3 separate regions of the Homo sapiens genome follow, and all the other regions are linked to region 3. Evidence: promoter capture Hi-C in 16 types of primary human blood cells and fetal thymus (Javierre and others, 2016). All regions are on one chromosome and are shown on one strand. The core of a region is centred on a gene start or on the middle of the fragment in contact, and the rest is flanking DNA. Distances in the headings are between cores, read along the strand shown. Region 1 overlaps OTUD6B-AS1 (OTUD6B antisense RNA 1). Region 2 overlaps OTUD6B (OTU deubiquitinase 6B). Region 3 holds the start of C8orf88 (chromosome 8 open reading frame 88).

Region 1 (2,723 bases), core at 206-2,705, 75 kb after region 3:
GAGTATAAAGGAACTCTATTTTTTTGGCAACTTCTAAGTGAGCCTAAAATAAATCAAAACATAAAGTTTTCCAAAAAAGGCACATGCTAAATGACTCATGTATCAACGAAGAAATCAAAAGAGAAATTAGTACTTTGAATTGGAAAAAAAAACACAACAAACCAAAATTTGTGGAATGCTCTAAAGCAATCCTCAAATAAAAAATTATCCCATGAAACTGTCTGTATTAGAAAGAAAAAAAATTTCAAGTCAACAGCCTCAGCTTCCACTTTAAAAAACTAGGCACAAAGGAGCAAATAAAACCTAAATTTAGCAAAGGAAAGGAAATAATAAATCTGAGAGAACTGATGTGTTCAGAGGGAGCATGGCTTTGACATCTTAACTTCAAACTTTAGCCTTCAGAATTATAAAATAATACATTTCTATTGTTTTAAGCCACCCATATTTTGATACTTTGTTACTGCAGGCCAAGGAAACTAACACAGCTTGTAAGGATCACGCAGCTGCTGTTTGTATTATGATATTTATATTAAGTGGATTTATTAACAGTGGTCACATTTGAGGACTGGAGTTAGAGAAAGGAATTCTTAAATTCACATACATATTTTATTTAAAAGTAATGTTATTTTAAGAATATTTAAGTAAATTATATATGGTAAAATAGCTTCATGTTGTATTTTAAGGATAACTTAAATACTAAAAAATTAAAGTAACTTCTATACAAGGATAAAAGAGTGTACCTGTCTGTAGAATAAGTAAATAAGAGCTGTACTAACTAGTCAAATGAGTATAACTAAGATTTTAACACTGTTAAAAATGACATATCTTTTCCCAATTTCTATTCGATAATTTATAACTTTTGCTGAAAAAGTAAATCAAATATTTTAATTTGTAGCTTGTGATTAGATAATACATTTAATTTTTCTTTAAAAAAACTAAGGAAGTAAAGGTGGAAATCTTTGATGTGTTTTTGTTTTCCCTTTCCCAGTGCTTTCCATTCTTAATTCTACTCACCATGTTACTCAAAACAGGCACCACTAATTACCCAATTTCAGTATAATCAAAATGCTAGAAGGAAATAAAGTACCTTAATGACATGTCTTAAGCCTTCCAAACCTTGATAGCGTAAACCAAAAAGCATCCGAGACAGGACTCAATCAATTTAGAATTTTATTTTGCCAAGCTTAAGGATATGCCCGGAAGAAAGAAACACAAATCCACAGGAACAATCTATGGTTCATACCTTTTTAGAAAGATGATTTTGAGGGCTTCAGTATTTAAAGGGGGAAAGCAGGCTGGAGGGGAAAGAGAGAGGATATGGTCCCATTGCTGACTCCATGTGTTGCAAGAGAAAAGGAGCAGGCTGGGGAATAGTCAATTAGGTAATCCTCTTACGCTCAATAAATTGGCACTTTACATAAGGTGAACATAGAGTACCTACCTATGGAGATATCTGACCTTTTATCTGTAGCTATTAGCTTAGGAACAAAAGCGAGCAGTTTCTTGCATGACTCAGCGTTCAGCTTACTTTCTTCCTTTTGGCTTTGTGAATTGGGGTACCGAGATTTTGTTTTTTTTTCCACAATGGGAGAATCATAATGACAAATTTATAAATATAATATATAATTTTTCTTACCCTTTGTGAAATTCTTCATTTAAATTCCTAAAATTTTATGAGATTAAAATACATTTAGTAACAATCAACTTTTTTAATACAAAGATTCTAGAAAAGCTTAAGGTACATTATTAGCTATGGTCATTCATTCTGTCTTGAAGTTTAATAGAAATGCTTTTTTCAGCACCGAACTGTGATCTTCAGGACCATCCTTCCCTCCTTTCCTCTCTCCCTCTCTTCCTTCCTTTTCTCTTGTTCATTCTTTCATTCTTCCTCTTTTTTTGAGGGGTTGGAGTAGAAGGGTAGGCATATACAATTGTGAGGTCTGGAATCTACTTCATATAAGGACAAGGAGCAACTCTGGATAAAAAGAGAGTAATATACATGCTTTATTTGCCTGCAACTTGTGGGAAAGAGCATCAGAAGGCAGGAGAGGCACTTGGAAGGGGAAGTGAGAGAACATTGAAGATAAATCCCACTTCTTCTGTGGTTTTTTACTAGGGTGGATACTCATGTACTGACAAGCAAGTATCATCTTTAGCAGACTCTACCTGAGATAATGATCTGCTTTTATTTGTCACTGATTTTACTTTCCACAGGGTATCAGGATGAGGAACCTTCAAATCATGCATCACATTGAATCTCTTGGTGGCAAAGGTAGCATGGAGGTGGCACATAGCATCTGTGGTACAGGTAGGAGATTGCTAACCCTTGTTCAAGATGACATTGATAGGCAAATAGCCAGGAATATGCTTTTCTCTTGGAAGTGCCTACTCCACTTACTCTGAAAGGCTGACTCCTCACGATTCAGATCTCTGCCTACATGTTACCTTCTCAGGTAGATCATCTCTGAACAGATTCCCACCCCCATCCCATATACCTTATTATTCTGTTACAGTACTCTATTGGTTTCCTACATAGTACTTAATATAATTTGTGCTTGTCCATTTTTTTGTTTACTTACATATTGACTAATACATTTATTTACTTGTTTGTTACAAGTAAATAATGTCTTTATAAGAGGAATATGCCTTTTTAGCTCTCCAACATTTGCCCAGTGTTTATCGCAGTACCTGGAGCATAGCAGTTTCTCAATAAATATCAGTGG
Region 2 (2,764 bases), core at 28-2,527, 100 kb after region 3:
TTATTCACTTAAATTTGTTTACAACTTGTATAAAGCAAAAAAGAATGTGTGTAACTATAGTGAACGCATAGTTTTGCTTATATTATGTGATGTTTGCCAAAAAAAGAATAAAAAATGAATGAATTAAATCAACATTTATTTGCTTGAATTGTCATTCTTTAACAATTCAAGAATTTAGAAGTGGAGAAAACTCCTTTTGCTTTGTATCCAGCCTTTACTTTGTCTTCACACACAGATTCTTACATTTTAAGGGATTTTGAATAAATATATGAGCATAGCTTATGCCCCAGAAGTAGAGGGAAATAAAGTAATAGCCATTTAAGCTATAGCTCTTAGAAATCAGGTACAATCTTAGAACCTTTTAGAATAATGAATGTTTATTTAGGGTAAGTGAATTTGAAAAATATTTTAAGACCCATAGATGTTAAAATAAAGAATAAACATTTGTGTGCAAGAATGTGGAGCAGTAAGAAGGAAGTTTGTACAAATTAATGTTTTCACACAATTGTTAATATAGTGCCTTCTTGGTACAGGTTCTTATGAAGTAGCTGAAGGACTAGATCAGTTGATCTTCTGAGAATTTATTTGGTGATTTCATGCTTTTTTTTTTTAAACTTTTATCGAACAGATGAAATTTTTCTCTGCCTGTTCTGTTACCTCATACATTGATTGTTTCCTCCTGTCTTAAGTCTTTATCTTAGAGCTCATGAGGTTTTAATTCTTAACACATGGGTCTTTTAACCCACCATTGTTCTCTCCCACTTGAGGTCTTGGAACTACCATTCAGAATTGAATGTTTCACCCAACCTGCTTTATCCAGCTTCCTTGTCTTTCTAGTCTCAGTTTACATATTGATAGTACCTTCTGAGACAACCCTCCTCAGACTCCTCCCAATCTTGTTTCTTTCTAATACGTACACACTTGTAATCACTTACTTGAATTTAGTTGTTTTTCATCTATTTTTTTCCATACTGTGTTAAGAGCTTAGAAACAAGAATTTCTTGTTCACTGCTCTTAAAATACTTAGCACATTGCCTGGCCTGTCTGCATTGCGTGCTTAAAAAATGTTTGTTGACAGACTATCAGTTGAGAGGATAGGATATGAGTAAGAAGTTGCATTAGGTTAACAGACTGCTGGGAATAGAGAGATGGATATGATTTAGAATTGTGCTTGCTCGCAAAAGGCCTGCTTTTTAATTTACCTTGCCCTTGGATGAATTCTTCAAGTCTTTTGGTCAGTTGAAGGGAGAAAGGGAACCCAACAGAGCTTTCATTTTTCTTAACTTCCAAAAGTAATGTTTCAGCTAATTTACCTTCATATACCAATTAGGGTAATGTCTGATTTTAATAAATCTACACAAATATAAGAATCCTATAAAATAAGTGTACAGTTAGAAAAAAATTAAAACCTTTTTTAATATACTGACCATGAAGAAGTTTTATAGTTGTCTTATTTCAGTATAATCAGGATGACTAGTATGACATACTGGAACAAATTGCTGCCTTTCTATAAGGCTGCTGAATTTTTATTTCCGTGAATAGGGATGATATATAATCTAGCTCTTGTTTGTCACTCTTGTATTGACAAAAAGTCTTATTTATTGTTTATAATTTTAACCAAATATAGGATTAACATGGGGATCAATAACTTCAGTGCATGAGTTGATGAACAAAAATAATGACCTCACTTTAAAAAGTAAATTACATGAGTTTTTAAAATTTTTCATTTCATTTTATTTCTTAATTTTCTATTTTAGATTTAAAGGGTACATGTGCAGGTTTGTTACATGGGTATATTTTATAATGCTGGAATGTGTGTTTTTATAGAATCTGTCACCTAAATAGTGAACATTGTACCCAATAGGTAGTTTATCAACCTCCCCTACCCTTTTGGAGTCCCCACTGTCTGTTATTTCCATCTTTATGTCCATGTGTATCCATTGTTTAGCTCTCATTTTATAAGCGAGAACATGTGGTATTTGATTTTCTGTTTCTGTGTTAATTCACTTAGATAATGGCTTCTAGCTACGTCCATGTTGCTGCAAAGGACATGATTTCATTCTTTTTTATAGCTGCATAGTATTCCATGGTGTCTATGTACCACATTTTCTTTAATCTACCAGTGATAGGCACTTAGGTTGATTCCATGACTTTGCTATTGTGAATAGTGCTTTGATAAACATGAGTGTAGATGTTTTTTTGATAGAATGATTTCTTTTCCTTTGGGTAGATAACCAGTAGTGGGATTGCTGGATTGAATGGTAGTTACATCTTTAATTCTTTGGGAAATCTCCATACTGTTTTCCACAGGGGTTGAACTAATTTACATTCTCACCAACAATGTATAAGTGTTCCCTTTTCTCCATATCCTTGGCAATTTCTGTTAATTTTTGGCTTTTTAATAATACCCATTCTGACTGGTGTGAGATGGTACCTCATTGTGGTTTTAATTTGCAGTAAGTAAGGGTTTTTTTCACTTTGCCAAATCCTGATGGAAAAATTGCTGTTTTTGAATCAGGCATTTCCCCCACCCCCCACCCACCCCTACTCTTGTGACTGACATTGGAAAGGCCTGATATACCTAGATCAGAGATTTTCATCAGTGGCACTATTAACATTTTGAGTTGGATAATTCTTTGTTGTGGCATTGTAAGATGTTTAGCAGCAGCATCTCCTTTCTAAGTACCTGTATCATCCCCCTCCAAAGTTGTAAGAACAAAAAATGTCTCCCTGGGAACAAAATTGCCCCCAGTTGAGAACCACT
Region 3 (2,700 bases), core at 187-2,686:
CAAAGTTCACACCTTTATATCAAAACTTGCCTATTTGTTACATAAAAGAAAGATATCTGACTGTCCATTTATTACATGTGGACACTGCGTGTATAGATTTAAAAATTAATGTGAAAAGTAACATTTATTTATAAGGCCATGCAGAATAAATTGGTATATGCTAATAATATCCATTTCTTCAATTTACCATTTTTCTTAGAATACTAAATAAATTAGGGAGTACTGTGCTTTCCTCACGCTACAGACATGGTATACTGCCATACTAACCATAGATCACAGCATATGAAATATACTATGCACTGTTTTTAGAAGCTGAGTACTATACTTAAACTCCAATATAAATTCTAGTCTTCTTTGGAAAGTACTGATGCTACCGCTGCCGTTGAGAAATAAGATCATATAAAGTGAAATAATGAAATGAAAAGACCATATTTGAATTTACCTTGTGTATAATTCCCATATGATAACCAGATAAAATTTCATCTCAATTTCCAACTTCAAAACATTACAAAGTTAGGATTCCTTGAAACCCAATACTGCTTGTAAGTAAACTGCTCACACTGACAAAATGATAGATGAAGAGAAACATACAGGAAACATCGGGGAGTAAGAAATAAACCACCTATGACTCAAGTGGTGAAAGACATTTCACGTTCCATATATCTGGTTGCACTATTAAGGAAAAATTAAAACGAAAATATCAAAAAACTAGAAGCTTGGAGAGTTCCAACATATCTTCCATTTCATGCCTTCTCTTTATAACTAATTTAATTTTTTTTTTGGTCTATTTGAGGGATTTCTCAAAACAAAACACAATTTAACATTCGGATGGGCTAAAGCTGTCCAGGTAATAGGTGTCTGTGATTACTTTAGTCATGTAACTGTCCTTTCCGTAGCTTTGACTAAAACACCAGCAATGAAAACCTTGTGCCACCGGGTGGAGGGGGCAAATCGTCTTGAAAGCCTCCCACCGCCTGGCACCAGGTGCTGGGGCAGAGCCAAGGGGAGCTGTGTACTTAGCTCCTTTTTTGGCGATGGCTTTGGTCTCGGCCACTTGCCCCTCCGTCGGGCTCCCCTGGCCCCCTACACTTTCTTTCCCCTCATCCGACGCTCTCGCTCCCATCCCACTCCCATTCAGGGTCCACAGGGTACTGAAGGGGCCCTGAGAGATTTCCCGACCCACCTCAGAGCTTCTCTTCCTCGCCTCAACTTTCCCGGGGTCGGGCCTGGGAGACGGCGCCCACCCGCCTCCTCCACACCACGGGGCCCGACTTCCGTCCCCCAGTGTCGCTCATCCTCCCTAGCCACTTACCGACTCAAAATCCACGGGGATTTCGGGGCAGCAGCGTCGCCGCGCTCAGCCCACACGCGGAGGCCGAGCGCCCTGCTGCCCGTCGGGGAACGGCTCCTGCCGCTGGTCCGCTGGCTGACCGCGGTGGCGGCGGCGGGGGGCGAGGGGCGGGGGGCGAGGGGCGGGGGGCGGGGCGGGAGGCGGCTCCGAGGGGCACGAGGCGGGCCCAGGGCGGGCGCGGGGCGTGGCCTCGGGCGCTGAGCCTCGAGAGCAGCCGCACCCCTGCCGGGGTAGAACCGTTAAAAGGGTGGCGCGCGCTTTCCCGGGCGAGCTGGGCGCGTGGGGTTGGAGCGGCGCCACCCAGAGCCGGTCGTCTAGGGTAGGAGGCCGCGAGTGAGGCGCTGACAGGCTAGCCCTCGACGGGGCGCGCCCGCGTGAACGGCCTTGGGGGCCCCAGACCGTGGCCCTGCTTGTGCGAAGACTGGGAGGCGCCAGGCGGGCCGCCTGCTGGGGGCTTGGCGGCGGGTTCCAGGCAGCGTCTGTGAGGGAGGCCGCCTCTGTGAGGGAGGCCGCCGTCGTGCTGACGACTGAGTCCACCCTACTCCTGTCCCCCGTCAGAGCTGCTGGCAGGCGCTGCTTTCCCCTTGGTGCATTTAGTGGGTGTCGGGATTCGGGTTGGCAGGGAGGAAGATGTTTGAGACCTGGTTTACCTCAGACCAGGGATACAGCGTTTCACACAGACTGCCATCCTGAAAGGAACAAAATGAATTAAGGCAACTCCATCCGAATCATTTCTTTTTAATCTTCACCTTCAATCCTTTTGCTAATTTTTCATTATCTTTGAGTGTCCCCAGAGGGGGACTGTCTGCTTGTACTGAGGGACGTGGAGGTGGCAGTCCCTCACGTCCCCAAGCACCAAAAGGACAGTTGAAAATGCACTGGCAAACACTGAACGGTTTTAAGTGGGGCACTATCAGGATTTACCATTTTGGAAGGTATGAAGTTTCACAAGCACTTCCATGTATAGTCAAGTTATTGGAGCTGTCTCCGTTTAGAAATGGCTTCCAGAAACACTCCTACTATCCACTGAGACAACTCGCCTGGCATCAGAGACCTAGGGTCCAGGGTCAGAGATGGGTCATGATAAAAGGGCATCCCTTGGGGTGAGGCACCAGAAGTCTGCACAGTGGAATCAATATATTCCAACCACCAGATGTAGAAAATCTTAAGTGCAGGATGTGGTTCTCATCCATCTAGTCACAACAGAAGTTTTCTTCTTCAGGAATATACTTAACAATGAAGCATGTATAATTTTATATACATCTTACAATAAAATTATTTTGTGCATATCACTGTATGAAGTCAGTAGAAACTATTGTGACAAAAATGTAAATTGGAAGAATTCCAAT

What was found. The method cuts DNA at HindIII sites, captures the fragments that hold promoters and counts their contacts. A CHiCAGO score of 5 or more calls a contact.
Region 1: a fragment that was not itself captured here is called in contact with the fragment with the promoter of C8orf88 in region 3 in 1 of 17 cell types (fetal thymus); the score reaches 8.7 in fetal thymus.
Region 2: a fragment that was not itself captured here is called in contact with the fragment with the promoter of C8orf88 in region 3 in 3 of 17 cell types (fetal thymus, monocytes and M2 macrophages); the score reaches 7.7 in fetal thymus.

What each region holds. Positions count from the first base shown.
Region 1 is chr8:91,058,753-91,061,475 of GRCh38, forward strand. OTUD6B-AS1 (OTUD6B antisense RNA 1) reads right to left here. Exons shown (of 3, transcript NR_110438.1): 3 at 1,154-2,723. Among named protein-coding and RNA genes, the nearest start is that of OTUD6B-AS1, 10 kb to the right of the region's middle. The HindIII fragment of the contact is 549 bases long and covers 1,182-1,730 here.
Region 2 is chr8:91,086,962-91,089,725 of GRCh38, forward strand. OTUD6B (OTU deubiquitinase 6B) reads left to right here. Exons shown (of 7, transcript NM_016023.5): 7 at 1-132. Among named protein-coding and RNA genes, the nearest start is that of LRRC69, 14 kb to the right of the region's middle. The HindIII fragment of the contact is 5,637 bases long and covers 1-2,764 here.
Region 3 is chr8:90,983,802-90,986,501 of GRCh38, forward strand. C8orf88 (chromosome 8 open reading frame 88) reads right to left here and starts at 1,437. Exons shown (of 6, transcript NM_001190972.2): 1 at 1,313-1,437. RefSeq lists a silencer at 1,461-1,620. The HindIII fragment of the contact is 2,363 bases long and covers 714-2,700 here.